6 separate regions of the Homo sapiens genome follow, and regions 1, 2, 3, 5 and 6 are each linked to region 4. Evidence: promoter capture Hi-C in 16 types of primary human blood cells and fetal thymus (Javierre and others, 2016). All regions are on one chromosome and are shown on one strand. Each heading gives the region's core, a stretch centred on a gene start or on the middle of the fragment in contact. The rest is flanking DNA. Distances are from core to core; before and after follow the strand shown.

Region 1 (2,700 bases), core at 8-2,507, 200 kb before region 4:
CTTCTTCTTCTAATTGATGGAACCATGATGGAAAGGGTACATACATTGCAATCACGGATGCTGTCTATTTGGATTCAAATTTTTAGGAGAGTGGGGAAGAAGCTAGAAAAATGGGATCCTTCTACATCTTGTCTTTTTATTGAAGTCAGACCCCTTTCAGATCCTCCTGATCTCACCATTGTGTCTCACCCTGGCCAGTATTTTCCCCGACCTTTCCTTCATCATTTTCTTTGTTTTTAAGGCTCCCAGACAGCAGCCTCCTCGGTTCAACCATGAATGGCATCCGCTAAAAGTGCTGACCCCTCTTTAATATCTGGGTCATGCTTTGTGTGTCTTTTTGCATTAGTGTGATGAAAAGGACTTCCTTTGGTTCCTTTCCCAAATGATCAATTGGTAATTTGTACAGTAGGTTGAAAGGTTGATCCTGCAAAAGTTCATAAATAACATGACTTATTAATCAAAGAAATTTCATAATACACAAGGCATTTACAGTTTCTTTTAAAATAAGATTTGTGATTATTTTTGGAAAATGTTTTAAAATTCCAGATTAAGTGCACATTTACTTCTTTTTTTTTCTTTTCATACCTTTTATTTTTATTCTAGATTCAGGGAGCACATGTGCAGGTTTGTTACAAGGGTATATTGCATGATGCTGAGGTTTGGGCTTCGTTGATCCCATCACCCAGCTAGTGAACACACCACAGTACCCAATAGAAGAATTTTAAGTCCTTCCCCCTACACCTTTACTAAATGGCAAGAACAGGTAGTGGTTTCCCATACTGTTTTATCACCATCCTCCTGGCTAACTTCTTATGACATGGACAGGCACCCATGTAGCAAATCTGCATCTGCACCTAGACAGGCCTGTGCAGAGTAGACTTATGTGAACATTGGTTTGGAGGGTACTACTGTGATTCAGGACAGCTCAGGGAGGCCCGGCATGGTCAGTTCCAGCATGGCCCTGCTCCAGGCTGTCTGGAGGCCTCCCTAAAGGAAGGTGTGGGTGGTGTCCAGTTCTCTTCTTTCTCCAGGACACAGCCAGTTTGCAACCCTGGCTCAAGAGGTGTAATAACACAACTAAAAGAAAATCATAGGCTCATTTTTACCTGGAGTTGCCAACTGTCCTGGATTGACTGTTCTCATCTCATAAGCAAGCCTGAATTTCAGAAATATAAGAACTTCGGAAACATTGCAAGTTCTCTCTCTCTCTCTCTCTCTCTCTCTCTCCCCCAAGCCCCTAAACCAAAAGAAGGCAATACTTCTTAAGTTGCTATATGCAGATTCAAGTACCTATATTGATAATATTTGCTATCAGGACTTCATTTTACATTTTAAAATAATATGCCACCTCTGAAAAAAATTATTGTTTTGGCAGGTTTTCAGGAAACAAATGCTCACCATGTGAGATTTTAGAAAAAAGGAAGGGAAATTAGTCACTCAATACTTTGAAGCATCCAGCAACTTCTAAATCCCTGGAAAAATCAACACAAGGCAGACCTCTTGCAGATTTCTTAACTTTTCTCTTCTCCTAGGAGATGCCAGTGTCTCAGCTGGCTGGAACACAATTTGTGAGCCAGGATTGGCCCAATCCAAATTGTGGTTTTTCATTCTTCTATAGCAGTGGCTTCCAAATGGGCAATAACAGCCACAGCCTAAAGTGTGCACCTGAAAACTAGGCAGAGTGGGATCTGGCACTATAGGCATTTTTTCTGATCTGCTCCATAGAGGGTGTCATGTTCTGGCCAGTCACTAGAGTAGGAGTGACCACCCACTGGGCAAAGAGCTTATGGGAGAAACTATGGATTCCACAGCCTCGCATTACTCCCAGGGTAAGTTGCCAAGGAAACGCACAAACTTAAGTACCAAAGAGTCTCACATCACATATCTGCCCTGAACTTACCACGGCAGGAGAATTAACCAGCTACCTACCACTTACCAGCAGGGTGAAAGAGAAAGATCACAGGGTCTTGGTGCTTGCTGAAAATGGACTGCTGCTACAATATAGTCCCTCTTGGGGTGGCCCTAAGGAACATGGGCAGAAATGTAAGCTGTACACTTGGTGGTTCACTTTATAAACAGGGAGAAATGGCCTGAGAACAGATTGGCATGGACTCTGGGGCAAGGATGAATGGCTTGGCTGCTTAAGTGGTCAGGGCCCAGAAGGAACCAGATAGGAAGGTCCGTGAAAAGAAAATGTAAGGGAGAAGCATGAGGATGAACCTACAGTTGCAGACACAAAGTATGTGTATCTTTGTAACTTAGATTAAATTAATGCCCACCAGGGAGCTCCCACTATAGAGGAAGCTCTGAACAATAAAGTGGACAGGATGTCTCCTTTTGTGGATGTGGACAGCTAATGCTGAGCCTTCACCATGACACCATTTCTTAAGGAGACCAGACCAGCCACTTGGTAGCAGATTGATTTCAATTTCACTTTGTCTTTATCAGAATCGATTACCTATGCTGCCCATATGTCTCGGTTAGCACCCATCCCAGCACTTACAGAATACCCGATTGTAGCAATGGGCACATGGTCATGAGATCCACTGCTCTTATCAGTTATTGGATCAACTGGAAGTAGCTAGTCTAACAGGAGAGTGGAAAGATTATTTGAAGGCTCAGGTAGGGTGCTAGCTTTGGGGCAATAGCCTGTAGGATTAGGGCACTGTTCTCCAGCAGGTAGTATATGCATGAAAACAG
Region 2 (2,700 bases), core at 152-2,651, 150 kb after region 4:
GTTCCTGATTGGTTTGCAATGTGTTTTATTTCCCATCCCCAAGTTTCATAGCTGCCGGCCCTGGGATCTACAGTCACAGGCTGTAACACAATATCTTGCACATCCTGAGTCTTTAATAAGCTTTTGTAGATGGGCTCTTACCATCATCATCATCGTGAAAGGCAAATATACAAAATTTGTTGACTAATGTAATGAGTCATGAGTAACAGAAGTTTACTGACCAAACACTACGTGCATGTAGAGTTCAGAATAAACACTTTATTATCACATCAGAGGAAAAGACCATCTTAGAGGCTCAACAACCCAGGAAAGCTGTGACGATTTCTTCAAATTGTTAAGAATATCCATGCATATGGGTTTCACATTATTTTGCTACATACAGTACCAATTTTTCCAAAAGCCAACAGCAGGTATTCTATTACCCATCCTGGACTTTTACTCCAAGAAAAAATACACTGAGTCTGTGAGTAATTTATTAGTATTTTGATCATTGCTGCCTTTTTTTTTTTTTTTAAGGTAAGAAGATCTAATGCATCCTATATCCAGTAAGTAGAATTATCTCTTCATCTGGGACCTGGAAATCCTGAAATAAAAAAGGATAATGCAATAAACACAGTTGCAGGAAAGTATGTTAGCTATATACTATGAAGTACTCTTAGTTTACTTATGTTGAATGGCTTAGCTATTAATACTCAAATTGAGTTAAAATGAAAATTCCTCCTTAAAAAATCAAACGTAATATGTATTACATTTCATGGTACATTAGTAGTTCTTTGTATATTGAATAAATACTAAATCACCTAGGTGTCTATGTTCTATCACATCTACAAACATGTCACTTCCTAATTAACAAAATGTTCTTCCTTTAGTTTGCTTTTGCACTTAAAATATATATAATTGACTTTTTTGGAAAAAAATCTAAGATTCATTGCTTTGTTTTGTAAAGACCAATAGGTTCTGTATAGTCTTTTTTTAAATTGTGGTAAAATACACATGGCATTAATTTACCATTTTAACCATTTTAAAGTGCACAATTTGTGGCATTAAGTACACTCACGTTGCTGTGCAACCATCACCACCGTCCATCTTCAGAACCTTTTTATCTTCCTAAACTGAAACTCTGTACTCGTTAAGCACTCACTTCCCTTTTCCCCATCCCCCAGCCCGTAGCAACCACGACTGTACTTTCTATGAATTTGACTACTCTAGGTACTGCATGTAGGTGGAATCATACAGTATTTGTCTTTTGCTTTGTTTTGTTTTGTTTTTTGTTTTCTAAGACAGGGTCTCACTCTGTCGCCCAGGCTGGAGTGCAGTGGTGCAATCACAGTGTCCTTTTGTGACTGGTTTATTTCACTTAGTGCCATGTTTTCAAGGTTCATCCATGTTGTTGCATGTCTCAGAACTTCCTTTTTTAGGCTAATATTCTTGCATGTATTTACCTAGTTTTGCTTATCCATTCAGCCATTGATGGACACTTGGGTTGCTTCCATCTTTTGGCTATTGTGAATAATGCTGTTTTGAACGTGGGTGTGCTACATAGTTACTTTTTAAAATTGGCACAACAGCGCTGTCTTTTGACATACGTATTTTATGGAAAACACAAGATTTTCCTGGCTGACGCTCAACCTCATAATTTGGACCTTGGTGCAACACAATAATAGGAGAGCTATGTGTCAGTATATATCACTAAGGATTACAATGAGAGTATATACAGTCAGTATTACAAATTATAAAAAGAAATGTAGGCCAGGCACGGTGCCTCACACCTGTAATCCCAGCACTTTGGGAGGCCAAGGTGGGTGGATTACCTGAGGACAGGAGTTCGAAACCAGCCTGGCCAACATGGTGAAAACCTGTATCTACTAAAAATACAAAAATTGGCCAGGTGTGGTGGCGCATGCCTGTAATCCCAGCTACTCAGGAGGCTGAGATGGGAGAATTGCTTGAACCTGGGAGGCAGAGGTTGCACTGAGCCAAGATTGTGCCACTGTACTCCAGCCTGGGCAACAGAGCGAGACTCTTTTTTAATAAATAAATAAATAAATAAATATATAAAAGAAACGTAATGAAAGAGAGAGAACTCTGAACTTTTAAAGAACTTTTCACCCAGTCTTGATCTATCTGACAGAAAGGCTTGTCAGAGAAAGTTAGAGTTCAGAGGCAGCCAATTGAATATAATTAACTCCAAATGAAGATAAACCTTTTCTAAATCATAACTGAAGGCTATAAAAAATGAGAATTATGTTATTTTTTTTTTGAGACAGGGTCTTACTCTATTGCCCAGGCTGGAGTGCAGTGGCATGATCTGGGCTCACTGAAGCCTGACCTCCTTGGCTCAGGTGATCCTCCCACCTCAGCCTCCTGAGTAGCTGGGACTACAGGTACTACCATGCCCGTCTATTTTTGTATTTTTTTAGTAGAGATGGGGTTTCTCCATGTTGTCCAGGCTGGTCTCAAACTCCCAGGCTCAAGCAATCTGCCCGCCTCAGCCTCCAAAAGTGCTGTAATTACAGGCATGAGCCACTGCTCCTGGCAGGGAACTAATAGAATCCTGGGTTCTTCGGTGTGCAATAAATCTCAAATACAGTCTATTCAACCATAGATTTTAAATATTTGTTAGTGAAGGTGACAAAAAAATAAGTGATTAAGAGAACCTATTTTCTATCCAATGAGCTATCAAAAGCTTATAGAGTGGAA
Region 3 (2,799 bases), core at 7-2,506, 190 kb before region 4:
AGAAGCTATGGAGAAACTGCTTATGGTGAGGACCAAGTCCCCCCATTCATTCATTCATGCATCCCTGCATCCATCCATCCATTCATCCATGGATCCATCCATCCATCCATCTATGCATTCATTCATCCATGCATCCATCCATCCTTCCCTCCATCCATCCATCCTTCTATCCTTCATTGGCCCCTATTCTATGCCTTATAATAAAGGGAGAACAAAAATTCCTTGATTTGAGAGATATTTAAATTTGTTTTATTCATTTTGGGTAGATTAGATTTATATCCATACAAAGTTGAAGACTAGTGTACTGCATCAACATTTTCAAACTCTTTAGAAACAGTGAACCTGAAGTGAAATCACACATATGACATACATATGTAGTCCTTCTGACTAGTGATCCAGAATTCCACCTGCTCTGCAAATACTCTCCTCCCATTCACTGTGGCACCTTCACAGTCTTCCCAGGGCCCCCTGAGCAATTCAGAGACTGCTGTACTTTTGTATGAAACAAAGCCTTGATGGTGTGGTGCAGGCAGTGGATCTTAGGAGAGGCTTGCTGGGAGATGGAGAATATGGAGGAAGGGGGGGATATGGGCTGTGCCCTGAAAGGGGACTCATGTTTGCACCCATGAAAAGAAGGGGATGCATTATGTGGTAAAGTGCAGGCCAGGAATAGGATGAGCAGAGGCCCTCAAGCCATGAAAGTGGGTGCGGTCAAGAGGTGGGGGTGTTAATCAGGTTTCCACAAGAAAAAGATGGCACACTCAGGCTGGGTAATTGAGGAGAGTTTAATAAAGGGGCAATTGACAAAGATGTGGGCAGGCCTTAGGGAAAACAACAAAGGATAGTGCAGGATCTTTGGCTAATGGCAGCTGAGAGTATCACTAGGGGCAAGAGGAGGTTGCTACTCCTGGAGCTGGACAGAGAGCCGGACGAGGCTGGTGTGGTGGCTCGCACTTGTAATCCAAGCACTTTGGGAGGCCAAGATGGGCAGATTGCTTGAGCCCACGAGTTCGAGATCAGCCTGGGCAAAATGGTAAAACCCTGCCTCTAAAAAAATATAAAAATTAACCAGGCATGGTCGTGAGCGCCTGTAGTCCCAGCTACTTGAGAGGTTGAGGTGGGAGGATACCTTGAGTGCAACAGGTCGAGGTTACAGTGAATCGAGATCATGCCACCACACTCCAGCCTGGGCATGCAGTGGCACTGGCAGGAGAGAGTGCTGGACCAACTGATGGGAGATATGGCCTTTGGCAGAGAGATAAAATCTATTCCTGGTGACCTTCAGAGAGGAAACCAGGGAAATAAACACCTCAACTTCACTTTCTCCTGCCAGTGCCTCTCATTGTCCAAACACAACTGGTTGCCAGAAGCCAAGGGAACCTGTAAATATCTATCTCCCTGAAGCCCAGAGAATGGTGGAAAAGTGTGGAGATGGGATCTGAAGGGACAAATAGAAAAGAGCCACATAGACAGCTGCTAGGTTAGGGCCCAAGGACCCGTATGTTAGCTGTTGCCCCAATGATGCTGTGTAATGAACAACCCAAATCTCCATGGGATATATATATATACAGCATTAAGCATTTATTCTCACAGTCTGGGTTGACTGATCTCAGCTGGGCTTGGTGGGACTGCTTTGCTGCAGGCTCTGAAGGTTGGGCTGGCTCTGCTTCTCATCACAGGTCTGTTTGGCTGGGGCAGCTTTGTTCCAGGTGTGTTCACTCTAGGGCCCTGGCCACAGGAACAGAGGCGAAGGCCAGGGGAACTCTGCACGGTGATGGCAGATATGCAAGAGGGCAAGCCCAGTGACCCTGGTGCTTTCCAAGGCTTTGGCTGTATCACATCCACCAACATTGGCCAAAGCAAGGCGCGTGACTGAGCCCAAGTCAAAGGGCAGGAAAGTACACTCCTCCCATAGAGAGGGGGAGCTGCCAGGTTACATGGCAAAGAGGGTAGATATGGGGAGCTGTGAAGAATGGAGCCAGTAATTAAATCCACTGAAGTCTCCACAGGAGGGCAAGGTGGAAAATCTGTCCCATAGGAGGCGGATTCAGGAGGGCAGCTGTGAATGGTGCAAATGCCATTTATGCTCCTCTCCACCCATATCCATTCTTCCTTCCTTGCATAGGCATGGAATTTTTAGCTTGGCATCTAACTGTAATTCCCAGCTAAAGACTGTATTTCTCAGCCTCCCTTGCAACTAGGTGAGGCTATGTGACTACGTTCTGGTTAAAGAGATGTGAGTGGAAATGACGAATGCAAATTCTGCCCTTAAAGGGAGAAATTTCATTTCATCACCCCTCTCTTAAGCCCACTGCCTGGACTGTGGATGTGGTGCTGAGCCCTTTTGGACAATGCAAACGAGGGCACTGGCTGAGAGACTGCAGGACAACGAGATAGTCACAGTGCGGCTCCCTGGGCTAGTTGCATACGTAAAATTAGGGCCAGGGAGAGATGCATCTATCTTATTCACCTGCTATCACTTTGGGTCTTTATTTCAGCAGCCAAATCTATATTTAATACAAATTGATAGGAACTTCTACACTCATACCCAAAGAAGAGATGACACACAAAGAGGTACGACTTCATTTTTTTCCCAGCATTTACTGGCCTAAAGGTGCAGAGATACCATAATTTTAGTTTTTTTCCCATGTCATCCCTCTCCAATATTTGGAAAGGAAGCATTCTCAGTGAGAAAACTGTCAAAGCAAACTTCCTTAATGCTATCAGGACAAGCAATGCCAGGACTTGTTCTTTTTGTGGGCAAGGGACCTGGCGTAAGAGGAAAGAGGAGGGAAAGAG
Region 4 (2,700 bases), core at 27-2,526:
CAGAGCCAAAAGTTACTTTCCAAGCGCCTTGGGGCTTCCCGGGCGCCTCCCTCGGACGGCAACCCTAGAAGTCAAAGCGATTGCATCGCCAGGTCTGTGGCGGCTGGAAGCGGGGTGACCGCGGTCAGATGGCATTTCGCACCCACGCAGGGCTGTGTTATCCTAGCACAGAACCAGCAACTCTCACACGAAGCCTTGTGTAAACACCACGCGGGCCCATTCCTGAACGACTCTTTGATGCCTCCGCTGCGGTTACTTATCTCATACATAAATCAGGATTCCGCTGACAAATCTCCGTGTTTCCACTAAACAGAAGGCTGCCCTGCAGTCCTTCTCGTGCTTCTTTCTAAAGTACGATAACATCTGACACTTCCATAAACCGGCCTGCAGAGGACACCGCGCAGGGGGCGACTAACCAGCTGAGGTGTGTCACCCCAAAACACCAGTGGGCACACCCCAAGGCGGGCACGTGGAAGGGACGCGGAACCGAGGGCAACTATTTTCCAGTCGGTGAATCTGATGGAGAAAGATGCCAAATGCACTTCCCGAGCCAGCTGAACTCCTCGGGCACCTAATCATTGCCAGATGTGGCGAGGGCGCACGGAGAACATCCCCAGTCCCGGAGAAAACACCCGGCCGCCAGCGCGGGGACCGCTCGGGCCGGGAAACGGCTAGAGGCGGGAGGAGAGAGGACTGGGCGAGCGTGGGGAGCGCTGCGGCGTGGAAAAGCGACCGGGAGGGATGGCGATGCCTCCACTCTCCTCGGCAGGTTTTTTCAATTAAAAAGTTGGAAACGGGAATCCGTAAACAACGACTTAGGGCTTCAAACTACTTGCAAAGACGCGATGGGGAGGGGAATACTTGCGCGCTTCAAAACCCCAACCTCGAGGTCTCCAGCCGCGCCTGACCCGGGAGCCGGGTGCGCCCCCAGTGTCCGCGCACGAACCCGGCGCCCTGGCAGCCCCGACTCCCCGGGCCCGCAGCCCAAGGGAAGGTTCGCGCGGGAGGCACCTCCGTGGCCTCCCGCGCGCCCCGAAGCCCGTTCCCCCCGCCCAGAGCCCCGCGGAGCTGCCGCCGCCCTACCTTTCATGGTGACCGTGGGGACGCACCGCCGGCCGGGGAGCTCCGCGCGAGCGCCGCGCAGCCGAGGAAGTCGTCCCGAGCGGCTGCTCACCGCACGCCCATGGTAGCCGCGCCGCGCGCCGGCCGTCTGCGCCCCCGTCCTCCCTCGCCGCCGCCGGCCCGCGCTCCCCGCGCTCCCGGCTCCGCGCTCTGCTGCCTCGGGGCTGCCGCGCGCGCCGCTCTCGCTCTCCCAGCGCCCCTCCCCCTGGCCCGACCCGGCCGAGCGAGCGGCCGCGCCCACGCCCCTCTCGCGCCCTCCCGCGCCCGCCCCGCCCTCGGCCCGCGCCTGCCCTCGCCGGGCACTTTCTCGCCCGCCCTCTCCTGCGCGCCCTGGCCCCACTCGCGCGGGCTCTCTCTTTTTCCCGTTGCACCAGCGTCGGGATGAAGTCGGGAGCAAAGCCCTTCCCGGGGCGGTCCAGCGTTCACCTTCGGCGAGCACCTAAGGTGCCGCTGCTGCTGGGGTCGCTTCTACACCCCAAACTACCTAGCAAGTGTTGGGCGAGAGGATGGGGAGCTGCTGTGCCCCGGGGGTGGCGGGGGGTAAGGTGGGCCCTTCCCCAAACGGCTCTGGGGCATGGAGAGGTACAGAACGTCCTCCGGGTTCAGAGTTTCCAAGTGCGTGCGCTGGTTGACGCCTGAAGGAGACCAAGCAGCAGGGAACACTCTCTCTGTCACCCAGGGAGAGCCCGAGTGGCCAGAATCCGAAGTCACCATTAGACACTCTCTCTGCGCTCTTGGACACCTCCAGAGAAAAAGCCAGCACATCCTGCCTTGGCTGGAAAAGCCAGCCTTCCACCCAGCGCCCCTAAAATGATCGGGTTGACTCCAGTTTTGTTACGAAAGGAGGCCGGGCTGCTGAGAGGCTCCCTGAGTTCCCTTCGTGGTCGCCCGTCACATTGCCCTGCTGTATACTTAATAAAGCCCGTGTTTATCTTTCTCTTTAGAACCCCCTCTAAGCAGACCCATCGCTTTATTGCTTTAAAACATACACTAAGTGGTGAGTGGAGCTGGGGCGAGGGAGGTGCGGAGAAACTTTCTGCCACATGTTGACATTACAGATGGCTACTCAGACGCACTAGTCCACCAAAAGCAATCGAACACTGGCCGGGCAGTGCTTGCAGCTTTTCAGTTTGCCCTCCTGAGGACTTGGTAACACGGTGTAACCAATCCATTGGTTCCCTCTAAGTAGGGGATTCTTTGCTCTAGTAAAAGGTAGTGCCCCAAAATGAATACATATTGAAACATTTCATAGATTCTCCGTTCCAGGAGATTTCTTTTTTCTTTCTTTTTTTTTTTTTTTAATTTTTTAACATAAGGGGGCACCTTGAACATGACGAACAAATGAAAAGACCGAAATGCTTTTTCCCCCGCACTGTCTGCAGTTGATGAAACTACAGGGTCCTGGTCCTGGAGCATGTTTCAGATCTCACTGGGGCACCAGCCTTGTCTTTCAGGGCAAATGGGGATCCCTGAAGGGAGCTTAGGATATGAATTTTCAGCCCGGAGTTTACTAACCAATGGCGTGACCTCGGCTCACTGCAACCTCCACCTCCCGGGTTCAAGCGATTCTCCTGCCTC
Region 5 (2,700 bases), core at 15-2,514, 150 kb before region 4:
CTCTCAAGAATAAAATGTTGCATATGTGTTTTTAGCAAAGCTAATTTTTAAGAACTAAAATACAGAATGTTTACAGGTTTAGGTTCAGTTTTGATCCTCAAATCAAAACATATGCCTCGGTCTGTCCTCAAACCACATGCAGGATCTCAAGTCCTGCCCTTCTTTCCTGGAAGCCAAAGAAACCTTCAAATATGCTGACAGTCAGTCATTTTCTACCCTTTCTACTTTTTCTTCCATTTTAGTTTTGAAAAACAGAGAACTGTCATGGACAGATAACTCAGGTTTGTGTAGAATAAATACAAAAGGGATAAATACATTCATTAAAAAAAAGAACAAAAAAAATCTGTCGACGTTTTCTTCTGTGCAGCAAAAGGAAACTATTTTCCCTGCCCACAAGTGCTAATGAACAGTTTACATGCACTGGGGGGTGTGTGTCTTTGTTTAACAATAGGATCTGGTATAAAGCTGGAAATGTTAGGATTGCAATGCTGGAACCTGCTACTGCATAAAAATACCAGACTGGTGGAGATCCAGAACTTACCCTTGCTGTAACAGCACACAGCACTTTCATTGACTTTTATTCTGAATTTATTAGCACCAATTCTCAATCAGGAATACAGTCGCAGAGCCATCCTGTATTACCCTGGAAATTCCCAGTCTATAGACATAGACCTCAGTTTGCAGACCATTCTCACATGAGAAAAATGAGCAGGATACACAGAAGGGTGACCAGCAGTCTGGTTTCTCATAGGCTCTCCTGTATTGGGAATTGTTTCTTAAGGTAGAATTTTTCTACAGAATATTGGTGTTTCAGGTATTATACCTGAAGATCTGTCCCTCTTCAAGTATCCAAAGTATAATTCTCTAGGATACTCTGACAATAAAACCTTTTTTATAAAAGCACTTCGGTATCATCCCTTGGCCTGGGCCACTAACTTCTTCTTCCCTCGTCTTGACTCCACTTCTCCTTGAAGGTCCGCTCCACACCTCACTACCCCATTGTACTCAGCCACACCTACAAGTTGATTCCACTGCACACCAACTCGATCTTTATTTGAATGATAATAATAATAGCCTCTATTTATCGAGTGCCTGCTCTTTGCCGGATGCACTACACCATCACTGCAGTTAATCCTTCCAACTGCTGTTTTGTAGATGAAGAGATTGAGGCTCACAGATGTTCAGTAACTTGCTAAAAAGTCACACAGCTTGTCAGTGACTATGTGGGATACCAGGCTGGAAGGTTTAACTCCAAAATCCATGCTCTTTCTATGACTCCGTATCACCTCTCTTTTGGTATTTCTTTTTCCTAAATCTGGTTTCCTCCAATAAAGAATCCCTTAAGGGGAAGAATTATTTCTGTTTATATTCTCTTTAAAGTTAACATCACCAGACATTTACCAAGTATCTGCCATGTAGGTGGCATAGTGCTAGACATTGAGGATTCAAGAGACACAGGCCATGGTCTCGGCCCTGAGGACAGAGCACAGAGCTCCTAGCTGGTGCTCACACGTTTTTGTACCAGACTGATCATGGCACTGTGGGATAAATACTTCCTCTCTCTGGGACCTGGGGCTTCCCAGTAACATTAGTTACACTCCTCTGGAATTTAATAAAGGCATTTCTACCTTGAACACCATTTTAGGTTTCCTTACAGAAATACAGAAAATCTGATTGTAGGGTGTTATCCTGGATCCTAAAGCGCTCTCCAGTGTGATTTGATGTGTATTTTGAAAGCCTAAATAGTAATCCAGTTGTAAACTGCTACACTGACCCAGCTTAGCAGCAAAGTAGACTACCAGTGACTAGGAATGTTGAATTAAAGGAGATCCTTATTGAGAAAGATTCAGATTTCTGTCTTTTTTCTTTTTCCTAATTACCTTTAGAAGGTTGCCTGTTGGAAAGGATAATGGAGTAGGATTTTCCTGTTCAGGAAATATTCTGGAAGAAACATGACACATTGAACTTAAGAGATGACTCCTGCTATGGAAGCTCTGTTGACTAATGATAAAAAGCCCGGGGCAGAGGATGTACCAAGCTCAACTGTCCAAGAACATGTTTTCTGCAAAGTGGCTGATACGCCTCACAGTCACGACCACTGCACAGACCCTGTCTGGGTGACTGAGCGATTCTCTGGCTTCTTCAGCAAATTCTCTTGATGGAAGCTCATTGTATTCTAACTTGTGGCTATGTAAGTGACATGAAAGAAGAAAAGAACAATTTTGAGCAAAACAGTATGAAGTTGCCTTTGCCAGCTCTGATAAATAAAAGTTTTTACTCCTTTCCTTTCGATTTCTCCTTCAGAGGAATGCCTTATTGTGTTTCTTTCATTGAATATTCTTTTCTTTCTTTCTTTTGTAACGGAGAGAGTTTCTCTAGACTTCAAAGGGGGAATGTGTGAAGGGAGAACTGGGTTTTATCTTTCTGCCTCTTACAACATTGGGTCACTAGAATCTTACCAGCAAGAAAGAGGAGTCACTGTGTGAGTAAAGAGAAAGCACATCTGGAAAATATCAACATTTTAGTTCATTAATGGTGTGTTTGGAAAGCAAAAGTGCATGTTGTATTATCTTTTTTTTGGTCAGTGGAGGCCTGAAGGAGGGGGGCACTGAAGGAAAGAAAAGAGGGGCAAGACATCATCTCGTTTCCCCTTGTACTTGCTCCCCATTATCTCTTCTTCCTTCATCTTGGTGAGACTGC
Region 6 (2,700 bases), core at 156-2,655, 130 kb before region 4:
CCATGGGTTTATCATGGGCGTGACTGGAGCCAGCTTATACTGACTGGTGACCCCCAATTGTTGTTATCTCTTCACAACTCTATGTTCAGTGACTTTATATTGGTAGCATGAAATTGGTCATGCTGGAAGTATTCACACCATTGAAATCAGCAAAAAGCTCCAAATCAGGGCTTTTGCCTTCTGGAGAGCCGGCTGTTAAACATTTGCCAGCATTCCACTCAGCGCCCTTACCATTTGCCAGCCTACCACTCAATGCACATACCACTTAATGCAACTGATCCATTGCATTTAAACAAGTAAAGAGCACATACCACTTAATGCAACTGATCCATTGCATTTAAACAAGTAAAGAACTAATCTGTCCATATAGACTAATTACTTGAGAAGTTCAGGATCACTGGCACCACCAAGCTTGGACATGAAGCATCGTTCCTTTCCTTCCCCGGAGGTGATACAGATCTTTTTTTTTTTATTTTTTTTTATTTTTATTTTTATTTTTATTTTTATTTTTTTTTGGAATAATGTTTTTTTTTTTTATTATACTTTAAGTTTTAGGGTACATGTGCACATTGTGCAGGTTAGTTACATATGTATACATGTGCCATGCTGGTGCGCTGCACCCACTAACGTGTCATCTAGCATTAGGTATATCTCCCAATGCTATGTGCCCTCTTACTAGTGATATTTTACACATTAAATGTTTTGAATTCAAAATTTCCATGGAAACAAGGTAAATTTCAAATTTACAATCTCTGTGGCGTGATTATAATTTTAGGTTCCTAGTGAAACTGAGAATGTTTAAGGTTCAATTCCCACATGTCTGTTAATTTCACCCCACGGATACAGGCTGACTTAACTCTGACCAACCACCCTGAACGTGCACTTCCTTCTCACGTGGAAATGAGGTGGCATAGCAAAGTCAAGATGTGGAGCCCTGGTGAATCAGCCTAGGACAGGCAGCTATGGAGGACACATTTGGATTCAGATGGAGGAATCACCACCGAGGAAAGGATTATGAAGAGCAACCCCGATCTGGAAGATATTCTGTTTACCTCTCAAAATCATGCAGGGATTAAAACCCGACCTACAAGGCAGAAAAAAATACAAGAGTTCAGAGGAAAGCAACACTTCATTACATTCATGAGATGCATAAATGACTGTAAAAGCAGCAGACTCAGAAATCAAAATAGGAAAAAATCAGATTCTACCAGCTGAGCCATTCACAGTGCAGGCAGAAGGCCTTTTGAACTTCAGCTCTTACAGCAGAGAATCAGAAAATGTGACCAGGAGCACACCAGCTCTGGAAACAAGTGAATAATGGAGATCAGAGATGCAGAAAATACATATATAATTTCATATGATATGAAATTTTTATGGTATAATCACTTCATTGTATTTCATGCCCAAAGAAACGAATTTTATTTCCCCGATGGCCAAACAGCTCCTAATTACAGTTGTAAACTGGTTAAACGGGCTTAAAGAAGAAGCGGCTTTGGGTGAGGACTTAACAACACTGTCCAATCCGCACTTTGCTGAAGGTGTTCCCCACTTCCCCGGTGAATATGGAATTTGGAATTAGTACCAGAATCACCCACTAGGGATTCACTCATACATTTTATTTTTAATTTGCAGCATATATTTGTTTACATAAACTCCCAGTACACTGCATGCGGTTTAGAACACACTGTGAGTTCATTGCTTATTATTCTTTAAAACAGCCTGTGGTAAGAGAGACCCTTCCATTAAGAAGAGATACTTGTCTTGAGAGGTCCACCACACAACGGGATCCCAGGGATGGTCTCAGCTTGATGGATCTAGGAGGCATACCCCTTCTAAATGGTGCCTAGCCAGAGCTCTTCCTGCCTGGGGCAGCCAGGCCTCTCAACCCTACTCTGGAAAAGCAACTAGAAGCTCAGGTCCTGCTGATGATGGACTAGGAATGCCATTTTTGCATCTTTGTCATGCACCAAGACAGGGCTCATTCATCACCTTCCCATTATGCACAGACCTGAAGAGGAACTGAAAAAGAAGGATTCAGTGATTCAGAAAATGTTCGTTCCTAAATGAAGAATACAATGAAGTCTGGACTTCACAGCCCTCACTACTATGCAATGTTCCTTCCTGCTGGAAAGCAGTTATGTTATTGCAGCAAAGCTGGTCAAGACAGCCAACCACCTGTAAATACAACCTACTGGTTGCCCTGAAACAATCTGTCACTTTCTACAGTACTTGGGGGAAACAACACCTAATAAACAACACCTAGTAAAGCAAAAGAACATATACTACAGTCAAAGGAAAAATCTCATGTAGAACTGTGGTAATGACAGTGCTTATAAAATTAGAAGCACTCATTTACTAGGGTATACAGAGCCCCAGATGATGGTGTGATTATATGTTTACTAAGCTTTATCCAGAGGACTACTGCATAGAAGTCAATCTTCTTGACTTTGAGCCCGTGGAAGATCCATCTGTTTCTACTCCTGCTCACTTCCCAGACACGCCGCAACTGGGCACAAATCACGGAAGAGAAATGTTTATCCAAGTGGAGCTGGAAAAGCCAGGACTCCAGGAGGGCCCTGGGGTGCAGGGAGGACCCCTTCTTTCAAAGGTTTCTGCTGCACAGGCCTAGGGTAGGATGGAAAGGATCACAGAGTAGGGGATAGAAACAATTTTTTTTTAAAGAAAGAGAAGAAAATCTTC

What was found. Contacts are between HindIII fragments. The CHiCAGO score rates a contact against its expected background, and 5 or more counts as called.
Region 1: a contact is called between a fragment that was not itself captured here and the fragment with the promoter of COLEC12 in region 4, in 5 of 17 cell types (M2 macrophages, M1 macrophages, M0 macrophages and 2 more). The highest score is 21.6, in M2 macrophages.
Region 2: a fragment that was not itself captured here is called in contact with the fragment with the promoter of COLEC12 in region 4 in 1 of 17 cell types (M2 macrophages); the score reaches 6.0 in M2 macrophages.
Region 3: a fragment that was not itself captured here is called in contact with the fragment with the promoter of COLEC12 in region 4 in 5 of 17 cell types (M2 macrophages, M0 macrophages, M1 macrophages and 2 more); the score reaches 24.1 in M2 macrophages.
Region 5: a fragment that was not itself captured here is called in contact with the fragment with the promoter of COLEC12 in region 4 in 5 of 17 cell types (M1 macrophages, M2 macrophages, monocytes and 2 more); the score reaches 13.2 in M1 macrophages.
Region 6: a contact is called between a fragment that was not itself captured here and the fragment with the promoter of COLEC12 in region 4, in 5 of 17 cell types (monocytes, M1 macrophages, M0 macrophages and 2 more). The highest score is 15.3, in monocytes.

The regions. Positions count from the first base shown.
Region 1 is chr18:294,495-297,194 of GRCh38, forward strand. No RefSeq gene overlaps it. Among named protein-coding and RNA genes, the nearest start is that of THOC1, 28 kb to the left of the region's middle. The HindIII fragment of the contact is 3,078 bases long and covers 1-2,700 here.
Region 2 is chr18:649,382-652,081 of GRCh38, forward strand. It overlaps CLUL1 (clusterin like 1), which reads left to right. Exons shown (of 10, transcript NM_001393344.1): 10 at 517-801. The coding sequence ends at 520. TYMSOS (TYMS opposite strand RNA) reads right to left here. Exons shown (of 2, transcript NR_171001.1): 2 at 239-583. Among named protein-coding and RNA genes, the nearest start is that of TYMS, 6.9 kb to the right of the region's middle. The HindIII fragment of the contact is 2,566 bases long and covers 119-2,684 here.
Region 3 is chr18:310,653-313,451 of GRCh38, forward strand. No RefSeq gene overlaps it. Among named protein-coding and RNA genes, the nearest start is that of THOC1, 44 kb to the left of the region's middle. The HindIII fragment of the contact is 5,054 bases long and covers 1-2,799 here.
Region 4 is chr18:499,425-502,124 of GRCh38, forward strand. COLEC12 (collectin subfamily member 12) reads right to left here and starts at 1,277. Exons shown (of 10, transcript NM_130386.3): 1 at 1,084-1,277. The coding sequence starts at 1,090. The HindIII fragment of the contact is 13,067 bases long and covers 1-2,700 here.
Region 5 is chr18:352,185-354,884 of GRCh38, forward strand. All of the region lies in intron 3 of COLEC12 (collectin subfamily member 12), which reads right to left. Among named protein-coding and RNA genes, the nearest start is that of THOC1, 85 kb to the left of the region's middle. The HindIII fragment of the contact is 4,508 bases long and covers 1-2,700 here.
Region 6 is chr18:368,926-371,625 of GRCh38, forward strand. All of the region lies in intron 2 of COLEC12 (collectin subfamily member 12), which reads right to left. It overlaps LOC107985155 (a long non-coding RNA gene), which reads left to right and starts at 466. Exons shown (of 2, transcript XR_007066264.1): 1 at 466-2,700. The HindIII fragment of the contact is 1,993 bases long and covers 410-2,402 here.